Regions from separate parts of the Homo sapiens genome. Here region 2 is linked to region 1. Evidence: promoter capture Hi-C in 16 types of primary human blood cells and fetal thymus (Javierre and others, 2016). All regions are on one chromosome and are shown on one strand. The core of a region is centred on a gene start or on the middle of the fragment in contact, and the rest is flanking DNA. Distances in the headings are between cores, read along the strand shown.

The links. Contacts are between HindIII fragments. The CHiCAGO score rates a contact against its expected background, and 5 or more counts as called.
Region 2: the fragment with the promoter of SMC3 here is called in contact with a fragment that was not itself captured in region 1 in 1 of 17 cell types (naive CD4 T cells); the score reaches 5.0 in naive CD4 T cells.

What each region holds. Positions count from the first base shown.
Region 1 is chr10:114,519,907-114,527,136 of GRCh38, reverse strand. All of the region lies in intron 6 of ABLIM1 (actin binding LIM protein 1), which reads left to right. Among named protein-coding and RNA genes, the nearest start is that of AFAP1L2, 120 kb to the right of the region's middle. RefSeq lists enhancers at 1-218, 389-508. The HindIII fragment of the contact is 2,440 bases long and covers 31-2,470 here.
Region 2 is chr10:110,564,296-110,571,525 of GRCh38, reverse strand. SMC3 (structural maintenance of chromosomes 3) reads right to left here and starts at 3,831. Exons shown (of 29, transcript NM_005445.4): 1 at 3,695-3,831; 2 at 2,513-2,588. The coding sequence starts at 3,709. LOC105378483 (a long non-coding RNA gene) reads left to right here and starts at 4,218. Exons shown (of 2, transcript XR_946318.2): 1 at 4,218-4,493; 2 at 6,513-7,025. RefSeq lists a silencer at 3,222-3,511 and enhancers at 3,852-3,951, 3,962-4,011, 4,826-5,528. The HindIII fragment of the contact is 2,181 bases long and covers 1,848-4,028 here.

The DNA of each region.
Region 1 (7,230 bases), core at 1-2,500:
AAGCCTAAGAATCTCGTTTCAGTACAAGCTTATGCCTCAGGGACAATCACTGTCGGTTTCACATGCAGACAATAGTGAGTGAATGCAAAGAAATGGTACTTTCCTACCTGCATTTAAAAAAAGAAAGAAAGTAAATCTACTCCCCCTCCTTTTTTGGGAACATGGACTGGCCCATTGTGGTTGCTGGTGTGTTGAACTAGTAAGTAAAGCGAGGAGAGGAGGCGTGAGAGAGCGTGCCTGCCCGCCGCACACGGGGCTGGTTTCCGGAGTGCGTCTCTAGAGGGATGCACGTTGCCTTAGCCGAGCTTCGGAGAGAAGCCTGATATGTAACCCAGGCAGGTGGGAGCCTCAGTCTGTCGGGCTGAGGTCTGGCATCTACAAAGCCTCTTGGCCGTGTTCTGAACTTGAAGCCTGGAGGAGTTCTCTGCTCAGCACAGCCAAGGAACAGAATTAGAAGAAAAGGAACCCTGGCCTGAGGTAAAGCGGACATTGCACAAGGTGACCTATGTCCTTTGCTTTGCGTGGCAGATGTGAGATTTCTGGCTTCCTTCGTGAGGTCGGAGGCCGCTCGGATCCTCCAAATGTGGTGGCTGGATGCTGGCGACAGAAGTCACTTTTATTGCCCTGACATACATTTATGTAAACTTTTTGTTTTCCTGATGATACAAAAGAAACGACAGGAGCTTTTGTTCATCGATACAGAACTAGACTGAAGGGCAGGAAAGGCTGGTTATTTATTTCACTGAGAAGTGTAGTGCGTTGACCTTTTAAACAAGGCTTATGTTTTTTTAGGCTGCTACCCGCAAGATTGAAAGGAGACTGTGGTTTTCAGACTTTGGGGTTGTTTTGTTTTGTCTGTGGTTTGTAGAGCTCTGTGAAATTTACATTTGAGTCCTGTTTGGGGGATTTGGTGGTGGAAGTGGCACGTGGGAATGAGTAGATTTAGCTATTACTGTAAATTATGAGATTTTTTTTTCTTTAAGAAATACCCAATAAATGAAAATAAGGAAACAAAATGTTTAGATGTTATTCATGTTTTATTGCGGCTCTAGGTTGAAAGAGCTTGACAATTGCCTCTCTTTCCACCTTTGATATGCAGTAAAAGAAATCTAGAGATTCTGGCCTTTATATTGAAAATAGTTTTCCTAAAAACCCAGTTATTAATCGAATCATACTGTAAAGACTTTTTTTGGGGGGAAAGTGTTTTAAAATGTGCTATACTAGCATGAAAGAAGAAATGGGACCAGAAAGTTATTTCATCTGTGAAAAAAATAGATTTATGATGTTGGAAAAGAAAAAAAGAAAACGTGAGTTTGGCCATAAGCCAGCAGGAGTGTGGTCGCTATAGCAGCTTCATTTGTCACTTAGCTGAGATTGGAGACTTAAAAGAAAACTGAGCCTGTTTTTCTCTCAGACAGCCTCATAAGGAATGTTAAGAGGATGTGAAGTTATTTAGATTACCAAAACAGGTTCTGACAAGTAAGTGAAAATAACTCATTAAAATATAATTGTTGCCATTCTATAAATGGATCAAAAGGCTTGTTGAGTCACTGCGTACTTATAGAATAGGTGAATTTGCCACGGCTCATTGGTATAAATTACTTTTGAGAAGGCTTTTTAAGACTAAGCGTGAGGCCTTGCCAAGCATCCCTTATAACACTTAGAATGTTTTGACCAATGTTTTCGAGGCGGTTGCCTAAGCATTTTCATGTGTCAGTGAGTCTAATCCTCGCATCAGTGGCTTATCCAGTAAGCTCAGGGAATATTATATCCTGACAACAGAAGCCTGCAGATTTTTCTCTTCAACTAAACAATAGCTCACCTAAAAGGACAGAAAGTGAACTACTCAGTTCTTGTAACCTGACTTTCTGGAGGGATGGTCATGATTTTGGCTCCTGTAGAACAGGGTTTCTCAACCTCAGCATTATTGACATTTTGGATGGGATTATAGTTTGTTGCAGGGGACTGTCTATGGGATGTCTAGTAGCATCCTTGATCTCTACACACCAGGCGACAGTAGCACTCCCTCCCCAGCTGTGAGAACCAGAGATATCTTCAGACACTGTTAAATATTCCCTGTGGGCAAAATGCCCCTGGTTGGGAATCACTGCTAGAGGGAAACCTGTCTTGGGGCCTACTGCTGCCAACGAGGGGGAAGGGTCTATGAGAGGAGGCTGGAGTCCCAGGGAGGCCTGGCGGGGTCCAAGGAACAGTGGCAGGACAGGTGTTTTTGCCTGACCATTTGGTTTTTATTTTGTTTGGGTTTTGTCTGAAATCACATCTTGGGAATGGGGTATCAGATTCAAGGACTTGCTGCGGATATACATTCTTCTGCCCCCTTTTCCTTCTGTGCCCTTGTGGGACTTATTTTATACAGTGCTATGATTGGTATAGTAGTCAAACTTCTTTCAATTGAATTCTAAAGTGCATTCTGGGGATATACTATTTTGTCTTTTTTTAAAAAGAAGCTTATACAGTGATCCATTTTATAAAGCAAATAGTTACCCATACTTTTCCCTTCTGTAAATATAGAGTTTTTTGTTGTTGTTGTTGTTTGTTTGTTTGTAATGTGGGTTTTTAGTAAATCTGGCCATGCCTGTTAGTTTTTTTTTCTTCTAGAATCTGCAAGTGAATGCTTTCATTTCTTTTTTCTTTTCGCCATCTGTACCAGTGGGTCTCAAACTGTTTTGATTTTTTTAGGAATTGGGCCTTGTTTTGTGAGTGCAATTGAAGAATCACAGCTTTTTTCCAATTTACAGATAACGATGAAGTCAATGGCTGGGATTTTTTCCGTTTAAAATTTTTCTTACACCTTTAGCATTAATGCTACTGCTTGTTTGCTCTCAAAGGTTTACAGATTACAAAATGCATGAAGCTGCGAGTGCTGCTTTTTCTTGGTGTTTCTCCAAGAATATAGTACATTGCACTGAGCACCGTGACTTCCAGGAGCTACCACCACCACCCAAACCAGATGAGATGTACCACTGCATAGTGCTTAGTGGTGCTTAGCATTGGCTGAACAGATAGGGAAACACCTTGACTTATTGAAGTCTATTCTTGGTGACAGACCTGGACTGGCCCATAATGTTATCAGAGAGCTGTGGTTTCTGCTTTTGATTGCAAAGCAAATCTTGCATTTCTCTCCACCTGGAGGTACCAATGTGACACACACCATGTGCTCTCTAAGTAACAGTTCTTCGTAATTAAAATTCACCCTCTCCCCCCATTCAGTAGACCAAAGATCCCTGAGTGCAGCAAATGTGAGCATTTTAGGTCTATTTGCCCCCAGGATATAGCACAGTGCCTGCTCATACTATTTGCTCAGTCATTGATGAACAGACAAATGAATGTCAATGATTTCTATGGAAAGACCACCCAGGAGCTTGGTCAGCAAGCCACATGTCTGCAGCCTGTGTCCATATTTCTGTAATTTTTTAAAGAGGACAAATCCAGTCACCATCTAAGCAGGTTTTAATGTCTGAGGGGCTACCAGAAAACTCTTTGAAGGATGCAGGAAGAGTGGGTCTGTGGGTTGTAGAATTTGGGCCTTCATAAGGCCCAGAAATTAAATTTCTGCTCTTATTATAAACCCCACAGGTTAATGCTTCTTCATGGTTTCAATAAGATAAAGAGCACACTAACCATAGGGTCTGACCCAAAGGCAAGGTATTTACCACCTCTTTAAGAAAACTCGCCAGTTGAAAGAGCTTATGATCAGAGGTGAAAAAACGGCCCTTGTTGATCTATGTGTCCTGTGGGGAGTCAGGTGGTGCTGCCCAGAGAACCTACCTGGTTCTCTGAACCAGGTTATCAGGGCAAGGGGGGTGCAGATGGGGCAGATGTCTTGAAATTGGAAGTTTCCAGACTGTGCAGAATGTAAAGATGCCGTAGTGAGAGACAGAGAAGCCAAAGATCCTCTCAATCTCTTGCTTTGGTTCACAAACCAACCCCAGCTCCATGGATTTTTTTGTTTTGTTTTGTTTTTTGAGATGGAGTCTTGCTCTGTCACCCAGGCTGGAGTGCAGTGGTGCAATCTTGGCTCACTGCAACCTCCACCTCCTGGGTTCAAGCGATTCTCCTGCCTCACCCTCCGAGTAACTGGGATTACAGGTGTGTGCCACCATGCCCGGCTAATTTTTTGTGTTTTTAGTAGAGATGGGGTTTCACCATGTTGGCTAGGCTGGTCTTCAACTCCTGACCTCAAGTGATCCACCCGCTTCAGCCTCCCAAAGTGCTGGGATTACAGGCGTGAGCCACCGCACCTGGCCTAGCTACATGCTTCTAAGCAGAGCCCTGGGAATGAGCAAGCGTGAGCCTTTCTTGTACCTTAAGCTGCAGAGGCTTAAGGTGCAGCCTTTGACGGGAGGGGACCTTCATCAAAGAGGAAACAAACCCTGCTGCTTTATTATTCGCCAAGCCTGGAATGTTTTTAGCAAATACGTGTTTGTGTCCTTCTCAGCATTGCTGGTTCACACTGAGGCCATTTGTTGCTCATAAACACTAGATGAAGCAAAAATACTTGTTTACACTTAAGACTGCTTTTATCTTTCCTTACTGCTGAATAGTAATTTTTTACTAGATTGTCTTGGTTCTGTGCAGCTGGTTCCTTATGTCTGTGCTCATATCCGTATACCTTGTCCAAATAAACATACTTGAAAACATAGAGAATTGTGTTTTGTGAAGTTTAGAACATCCTCTAACAGAGTTTAAGCTGAGCTTTCTGCTTTGTTTTGGCAACTTGTTTAGGATGCCAAATGTATCTGGTCTGGCAACAGATGAAAGAAGATGTTGGCCCTTATATAACGAAGTTTAGGGAATAAGTGGGGGGTGGGGTGGATTGCCAGGTTTCCTTTGTGGTTTGAAAAGAGTTCTAAAGCATGAGGAAAACATGTGTTCGACTGGGTTTTTGTTTTGCCTTTAAACCTTGGAATTTTGAAAATCTGTTGAAATATCTTCTCCTGGCTTATGCAGCCCTCTGAGATTAAGTTTCTGATTACCTACATCTTCCCTCCTCTTTCATTCCAGCCCTGCTAGCCTTCTTTCTGCCCCTCAAGCACAGACACTGTCCATCTCTGGGCTTTCACTGCTCCCTGAGCCTGGCACATTCTTCCTCCAGATCTTGGCTTCCTTCTCATTATTCAACCTGCCTCTTTTGACTTGGAGAGGTATCCTCTAATCACCTAGCTAAAGTTGCTTCCACCTGCCCAACCCCTAGGCCATCTTCTCTCCCCTGGTTCTGTTTTAGGTTCTTCATGGCACTGTTCCCCGACTATCTGGAATTCTTATCTGCTTGTATCCATGTCTAGTATCTGTCACTCATTGCAAGAATGTATGCTTATGACAGGTACTATCATATCCCCGAAACTAAAACATCATCTGATAGAAGGTTGGTGCCCAATAAGAGGATGAGTGGATGGATAGAAGGATGGATGAATGGGAGGGAAAAGGAGAGGGAAGGAAGGAAAGAAGGAGCGGGGAAAGGAGGGGGGTTGACTACCGAGTAAATTTCTACTCTCTTTTAAGTCTAAGAGCTTCTCTCCTGTGATTCCTCTTTGACTCCCCAAGACAGTAGCCTTGGAGAATTTTCTCCCCACACCCACCTCACTTTGTACATTACACTAACCATCTTATCCAGTTACAGTCACCTGTTTGCTAAGCTCTGCATACTAAGCTCTTGAGGACAGGAATGTGTAATAAAGGTGGTTATGGTTGTAATTATTGTTTGTTCTTATTGCCTTAGCACTTTATAAGCATACTTCATCAAAGTCCTTTCATCAACTCTATGGCTTGAGTATGACTCTCATCTTTGTTTTGCAAGTAAGTAAACTGAGGCCCAGAGCAGTTGCCGAAAGGCGTACAGATGATTACTGCAGGGCCAGGAATTGAATACAGATTTCTTCTTGGTAGCGCAGATTATACAGCCTTTCTTTCCTCCTCATCAGGTGTCCAGTGCCTGACCCACAGGTTCATCACAGGCTTTTGCCAAATGAATGAAACCTAAGACCTCACCTCCTCCCTTCTCATCCCTATTATTTGAGCTTATACATATTATTTATACTATTTATAAACATAAACATGAGCCTATCAGTTCATAATCCAGTGACATCTCTAAGGATAACTAGCTGCTGTATCTTAAGTCACTTATTTTTATTGTTTTTTTAGAAACAGGGTCTCACTCTGTTGTCCAGACTGGAGCACAGTGGCACAGTCATAACTTACTGCAGCCTCAAACTCCTGGGCTCCAGAGATTCCCTGCCTCAGTCTCCTGAGTCCCGGGACTACAGGTGCATGCCATCATGCCCAGCTAATTTTTTTTTATTATTATTTTTTAGAGACAGGGTCTCACTATGTTGCCCAGGCTGCTCTCTTAACTCCTGGCCTCAAGTGGTCCTCCTGCCTTGGCCTCCTGAAGTGCTGGGATTACAGGCATGAAGCACCACACCCAGCCTACGTCATTTTTCTTTCTTTCTTTTTTTTCTTTTTTTAACCGATAGGACGTCATTGATTGCTTAAACCCTCTCATTCTTCTTATGTAAACAAATCTATTAGTCAAAAGTTAAGCAGCTGCTGAGTCACATGGCACTTTAATCCAGGGTTACAATTGGCAGCCCTGGGAATGAGTTCTCCTTTTTTTAGCTCCCACGATGGCACTGATTTCCCCTAGAATATGAAACTTACACCAAGGAAACCACCATGACAACTGTAGGTAGCAATTTCAAGCAGAAAAGACTAGGAAAATGCCTAAGAATTTTAAACCTGACAGAGTTCTTCTACATTTTTAATATAACCAAGTGCTGTTCATCACCTGCCTTGACACCGGTGTTTGTGAGGTTGATTGGCCCCAGGATGTTCCACTGCAGAACAGAAGGCCAAGATCAGAAGCCCTTGTCGACATATAAATGTAATGCTGTAAGCTGGCTTGGAGCTGTGACTCCATGGAGCCAATTCTAAAATGATTAAGACTTCTGTCTATAGAGAGTTGAGGTGGAGACTGTTTACTATGGCCCTGCCCAGAGGCTTCAGCAGCTGAGGGTGTACCCTCTGCAGTGGGAGTCTTCAGGCATGAGCCTGAAGCCTGTGCTGGCCTCTAGGGATGGAGTCCCTTGTTGTCTTACAGCTTGAATTTTCCAGCACAGGACAACTCCAGATGACAGCTCCAACAGGGCAGAGGCTGCAGCCTTGCCAGACTGGTCCGTCAAAGCTTTCCTTGGCACATAATCCAGTTTCACC
Region 2 (7,230 bases), core at 2,582-5,081, 4.0 Mb after region 1:
CAATCCAAAAGCTTGGAGGCATCAATGCCAGATGTAGAAAACTTTGACCAATGAAAGACAGGTGCCTGCAAACAAATCCTTGTCAGAATCCAAATCCATTCCTCTATCATCTGACCTTTCTAAGGTATGGTGGGTCCACAAAGTCTGTGAGTTATTTAACATGACTGCAAACCACCTGTCTCTTCTTTAGAAATCTATGACCAGCTTTTCTCTTCATTCTTGCCCTCAAACTGCACCTCCCATCAAAGCCTTAGCAGCTAATCCTGTCTGTGCTGTTTTCTAGGAAACCAGGACTAATCACAAGTATAGACTGTTATTATTAAGAATGGTTATCTCTGAAGAATCATGGTGTGCAGTAAAAAACAAAGAATGGTTATCTCTGAGTAAAAGGATTATAGTTTATCTTAATTTTCTTCCTTTTAGCTTTTCCATAATGTTCTATAACATGTATTTCTTTTGTTAAAGGTTAGGGGGAAAAAAATCCCTAAAAACGTATATGTTTGATGCATATACCCAACATCAGTACAAGAGATATTTTTTAATAGTCAACATCATTCATCAATCAAAGTGGTATGCTTTCACCAGATATTTTTAAGGCAAATCTCAGTACCTAACTACTTTTGGTCTTTCTTACATTATGTCTTACAACGTGTCTGGTTTTAAAATATGTTTAATCAGTACTGTTATCTTGGGTTCATTTGTTTTAGTTAAACAAAACCATTTTCCTTTGTAACAGTGACTATTAACAAATCTAATGCTGCAATCACAGAGGTAACACAACTAACTGATAACAGCTAAAACAATGGTATTTGATGGACCTTATAGACAAAATGTAATCATTCTAGCTAGTAAGTTACAGATCATTTATAAAATCACACAAATGAAATATTAAGGTACTTATTTTAAGGTGCAAGTTAAAGAAAACAGAAATCTAATAATTCTTATTTTTCTACATTTCTAAAGATTTTCTGATTGATGAAAAAAATCAGAAAGTACTTATATGTAAGCAAAACCCCAGTACAATTAAGCCACCCTATGGCATGTCAATTCAATTAAATGACTTCAGTAGACAGAGCACAAGCAGGGAAAAAAAAAGTATGCCTTCTTTATTCCCAACTACAAGGCTGCTATTGATAAATCGAGGGCAAAAAAACCTGCCTTCAATTTTATCATTTTATACAAAATGAAGTATGATTCTCTAAAGGTCTTCTGGAAACATTAGTAATGTGAATCTCACCCACGCACCACAGACTGAATTGAACTGACACCCTGAAACAACTGACACCTTAATCCCGAATGTGATAGTATTTGGACATGGGGACCCCTGGAAGATGATTATGGTTAAATGAGGACATGAGGATGGGGCCATGTGAGCACACAGCAAGACAGCAGCTGTCCATAAGCCAGGAAGAGAGCCTCACGAGAACCTAACCATGCAGGTATCCTGATCATGGATGTCTGACCTCCAGACTATGAGAAAAAAAATATCTTGTTTAAGCCACCAGTCTATGGTATTTTGTTATGGCTGCCTTAGCAAACTAATACACCACTTAGTTTGGACTCTGTACAGCAAAACTGTGTCAACAGCAGTCTGTGTTTCTGGTGTCCAGAAGCACTCCTTTCATCTATCCTGTAAAATACTCAGCAGAGTGTCAGAAAACATTTTTGTTAGCTGTATCAGCAAAATGCACACTACAATCTGAGCAATCTATAATGACTACATATTGTTAATGGCAATCACCATTAGCTCTTTATCTTCACACTTACATAAGGTTTCTCATTTAATCTTCTCAACAGCCCTATGAGACAGGTATCATCTCCACTTTACAAATGAGAAAACTGAAGCTTCTCAGAAAGTGAAAAAGAACGTGTGCCACAACTGGGATTTTTTTTTTCGTTGTTGTTATACTAGGATACATGTGCACAACATGCAGGTTTGTTACATAGGTATACATGTGCCATGTTGGTTTGCTGCACCCATCAACTCGACATTTACATTAGGTATTTCTCCTAATGCTATCCCTCCCCCAGGCCCCCACCCCCCTATAACTGGGATTTGAACCCCATTCTGTTATGCTCCAAAGTTTATGCTCTTCCAATCTAGCTACATGGTCTGTCCTTAGAGACACTGACTGCCGGGGTGGGGGGGGAATCCTGGCATCTACTTTGTGAATAAAAATTGTCTGTCTCTGAAATAAGGCAACAGTCAGCATTTTCACTAGGATATATAACAAGAACAGAAGAGCGGAAATGCTTTAAAACACTCTTACACACACATACAAGGCTACCTAGATAAAAAATGGATAACTTATGAGTGTCTTATCCAAACATTTTAAGTTTATAAAAATAAGCAATTCATCAGTGCAATAAGACAGAAAAGTTATTTCACGCAGAAAAATATAACTTAATATTCAAAGACAATTCCTGTCTCCTTAAGCCAATATAGAAATGGACAGAATTTACATTATCTGTATAGACTATAAATATGACCGAGTAAACCAAGAACACTTACCAATCACATTATGTTTTGAACTGAAGGGATCTACAATTGTTTGATCTCTGTAACTTCGAAAACCCTGGATAATCACCTAGTAAATAAAAAACATTTTTGAGAACCCACCCCACAAAAAAAATTAACATTTTTCTCTTGCATTTCTTTCTTGTTTTTCATTTAATGCAATATAGAAAACTCGAAATTTCATATAAGAAAAATTCATTTTGGAAAGTGGTGATTAAAAATCTGCTAAAAAAAAAAAAAGGTACTTTTATCGGTAATCTTTGCCAAGGCAATGCTGCTGGGTTTTATTTTTTTTTAGGAGTTATGCTGTCAACCTGTTAAGGACCTTTCAAAATCAAAAACACTGTGTGAGCTTAACTGAACCCTAAACGCTGCAGTACAATAGCAAGTCTATAAAAGCAGGCCGACGGGCCCCAGCTCTCCTGACTCCAAGACCACCGAGTGCTGCTTTCAGTCACTCACGCCGGCCAGCCTGAAAGAACCCACGTTCCAAAGAAGGAGTGCTCAGAGCCCGACAGACCCAACAGAAAACCGTCTCCAAGGCCGTGTGCCTGGGCTCATCTTTGTGGTGGAGTCCCGCGCGGGAAGACCATTTTGACAGAAGTAAACAACCGAGGGAGGCGGCGCTCCGTATCCTGCAAGCAGGAGGGTCCCGCTCACTTCGCGGGTTAACTGGGGAGAAGAACGGCTCCCCGCAGTGACAGGTGACGACACCCCAGCCAATGCCCCCAGGGCCGCCCCCGGGCCGGGGAAGCCACCTTTCCACACATCCCAGGCACATGGGCCGTGTGAGGCCACCCCTGCAGGACCACACAGCCCTTCCCGCCCGCGGCCGCCCCGGCGGGGTGCCCCCCGCCAGCTCTGGGGCCACCCAGGAAGGCCCAGTCCCTCCCAGCGGCCCGCCCGCCGGCCCTTCCACACCTCTCGGAGATCCTGCCTCTCCCAGACAAGCGCCAGCAGGGAGGCCGGGGCTGCAAAGGAGTGCCCCAATTCTCCGCGACCCCGCAGCCGGGGCACTAGCGGGACCCGGGTCTCCCTCCTCCCCCACAGTCCCCGCCCAGCCCTGGTCCAGCCTGTGGAGACAGGGGAGAGGCTGCGGGTGGCGCCGCAACACTCCCGCCTCAAGGAGCGGCCCTTACCGGCCCATGACGGGGTGGAGGGACGCGAAGGCCTTACCTGCTTTATGTACATGATTCCGGGCCCCTGGCCTGGAAGGAGACCTGCCCCGGAGCAGCAACCGCACGGCCGCAGGGTCAGGTGAGGCGCCTACGCGACCCCTCCCCCAAAGCGCCGCTCGCTCCCCTCAGCCAAACAAAATGGCGGCGCTCGTGGGGGCGGAGTCCGCGCCTCGGACGGAACCACCTTGCAGCCTTCACAGGGCGTAGGAGGAGTCAAGTTCAGGTCTGCTCTTTCTTTTAGGCAAAACCAGTCCTCCACAGCGTTTTTTGGTGGATTTCTTTTGAATCTAGAATTCTGTAGCTAACGCTTTCCTGAGACTTAGTCAAAAGCTTCACTCGGAAAATCTATGACCGTAGGGTTGGTCCGTACCACCTCCGAGCGCGGGGCCAATGGTCGCGTCCACAAAGGGGGAAAGGTTCCGCGCCAAAGCCAAGAGGGAGACTCCGAGGGCCAGTAGCGCCGCGGGCTGTCGGCCACGTGATTCCGCGCTGTTTAAAAAAGCGGACCTCGCGCGCACTGTGCTAGCCTTGGAACACATGGAATGCTGGTGATTCTTGGAATTCTGTGTGCGGAGTCACTGCTGCCCCTTTGTTATCGCTCTCCATAGGAACGTTTACAATCTTAGCACGCCCCAAGCTGGTTACGAATTGCCCACTCGGAGGACAACCCCGAAGGGATTTGTCAATGCTCGAAAATTTGTTTTAATAATGTGATGATTAATTCCGTCGGGAACTGTTTCTGTTCTACCATCTGCTATAAATCTAGGCAGATCTGTACAATTGCAACAAAGATTTAGGTAAGGCTGAAAGCTTTTAATCCACTTTAAAAACAAAAGAAAACAGCCTGAAAGATACTAGGTGCTAGTGGCAACCCTAGGTCTGTCTGATCCTTGTCAGTCTTGGGAGAAAAACATCATTTGTTTAGAAAATGAATCTCTGGGCTGCTCTGAAATTACTTGCTGGGAAGAGAACAAAATAACTACCCAAATCATCCCCAGCCCCACCCCCGCCCGCTGCTGGAGACAATTCTGGCCCTAATTATTTCTAGATTGAACTATTTTTAGTAGCCTCCTAACTGCCTCTGCTAACCAGGGTATCTCCCTAGGAGTCCTTTATCTGGAGCCCGGATCAAATCCTATCCAGCCCTTGGTTTAAAAAAATAAATAGGCCTGGTCGAGTGGCTCAAGCGTGTAATCCCAGCACTTTGGGAGGCTGAGGGGGGAGGATCACCTGAGGTCACGAGTTCAAGACCAGCCTGGCCAGCATGGCGAAACCCCCGTCTCTACTCGAAATACAAAAATTAGCTGGGCGTCGTGGCGGGTGCCTGTAATCCCAGTTAGTCGGGAGGCTGGGGCAGGAGAATTGCTTGAATCCAGGAGGCAGAGGTTGCAGTGAGCCAAGATCGCGCCACTGCACTCCAGCCTGGGCAACAGAGCGAGACTGTCTCAAAATAAATTAAATAAATATGTAAGCATTTTCTTTTCTTTATTTCTAACTTTTTTTTTTTTTTTTGACAGGATCTTGCTCTGTCACCCAGGGTGGAGCTGGAGCATAGTGGCTCGGTCATGGTTCACTGCAGCCTCAAACTCCTGGGTTCAAGCCATCCTCCCACCTCAGCCTACAGGCTGTGGCCACCAAGCCCAGCTTTTTTTTGTTTTTGTAGAGACCAGGTCTCCTTATGTTGCCCAGGCTGGTCTCTAACTTCTGGCCTCAAGCGATCCTCCCACCTCTGCCTCCCTAAATGCTGGGATTACAGGAATGAGCCACTGCACTCAATCTAAACATTTTACTTCTAGATTTTAGTTGTATTATTTAAAGCTTAGGACAGGTATGGTGGTTCACGCCTGTAATCCCAGCACTTTGGGAGGCCCAGGTGGGTGGATCACTTGAGGTCAGGAGTTTCAGAACAGTCTGGCCAACGTGGCAGATAGGATTATCTTATACATCCTGTTTGTAATTCTAAATATGATGGAGTTTTATCATCTTCATTTTATAGACTAGGAAGTGGAGGCTCAGCATGGCAAAACTCCGTCTCTACTAAAAATACAAAAATTAGCTGGGCGTGGTGCAGACGCCTGTAATCTCAGCTACTCAGGAAGCTGAGGCAGGAGAATCACTTGAACCCAGGAGGCAGAGGTTGCAGTGAGCCGAGACTGACACTGCACTCCAGCCTGGGTGATGGAGCGAGACTCTGTCTCAAAAAAAAAAATTCTAAGCCTCCACTTCCTAGTCTATAAAATGAAGATGATAAAACTCCATCATATTTAGAATTACAAACAGGATGTATAAGATAATCCTATCTACCTAAAATTGTTTATACATATGTAGGCAAAATATGAAAAGATGGTGACTAAAACATTTGAATGGCTTTCACAGTGATGGGAGTTTTACTTTCTTCCTTAGGCTTTTCCATATTAAATGAAGCTTATACAATTAGCTTATATAATTTATATAGGCAGAAAAAAAGATCAGCGAAAAACCTAAAATAATCAAAAGGTGATTTTGAGAATGTAATGCTTTTATTTATATTTATGTATTTATTGTCTATCTCTGCACGAATATAAATCCAAGAGAGAAGGGACTTCATTTTGTTCCTGCTGTTACTTAGTAACTAATTCACAGAAAGTACTCAGTATATATTTATGAGTGAAAAATGCACAGAAGCAAAGTACTTACCACCGTGCAGGGCTTACATATGCCAGCTACTGGTGTTTAAAAGCTCCCTATGTCCCCATTCCACCCACCTTTCATCCCCCTTAGGAGCATCATTCTCTTCTGGTAAGTACGTAGGAGTCGAACATATTGATCTCCTTTAGCCAGGATAAATAGTTATTCAAACCTATGAACTATCTGGAAGCAAAGGGACATTCCTGAAAGAAATTGCCACCATAAAGCAGAATGCCAGCCGCACAGTGCCTACTAGCTCATAGCTAAACAACGGAGAACTGCAGCCTTGAAACAGTGCCCCAAAGAGTTAAAGAAGTCTGTGACTAACAAATTCTTGAGTTTGCAGGATAGCAGATGAGAAAAGAAACAACTTGCTGAAACTCCCTCCACTTGTAATATTAAAAAACTGACTGAAATTGCTTGCAATCAACATGACTAACTGGAGTTTGTGCAGAATGGTTTGCTAACATCACAGCCTGAATTTCCAGTGCATGGTTCATACAAACTCCCCGAGTTTGACATATGATCCATGTGGTGGCATGAAGAGGTAACTGTGCATGCCTCAGCACTTTCTAGACCTCCGCTTTCCTTCCGCCAATCACCTACTAATCCCAGAATCCACCCATGAATTTTTTTCTAATAAAATTACTGCTTTAAACCTAGCACAGAGAGACAGATTCGAGCTGGATTCCTGTCTTTTTAGTCAACTTGCAATAAAAAGCTTTTCTTTTCTCAAAAACCCGGTATCATAGTATTGGCTTCTAGCACATCAAGCACTGAGCCCTTTTTGCTTGGTAACATCATTTTACATCTAAACATCCCATTAACAACACATGGCATCACCTCCTCAGTGTTTTTATTTCTCTC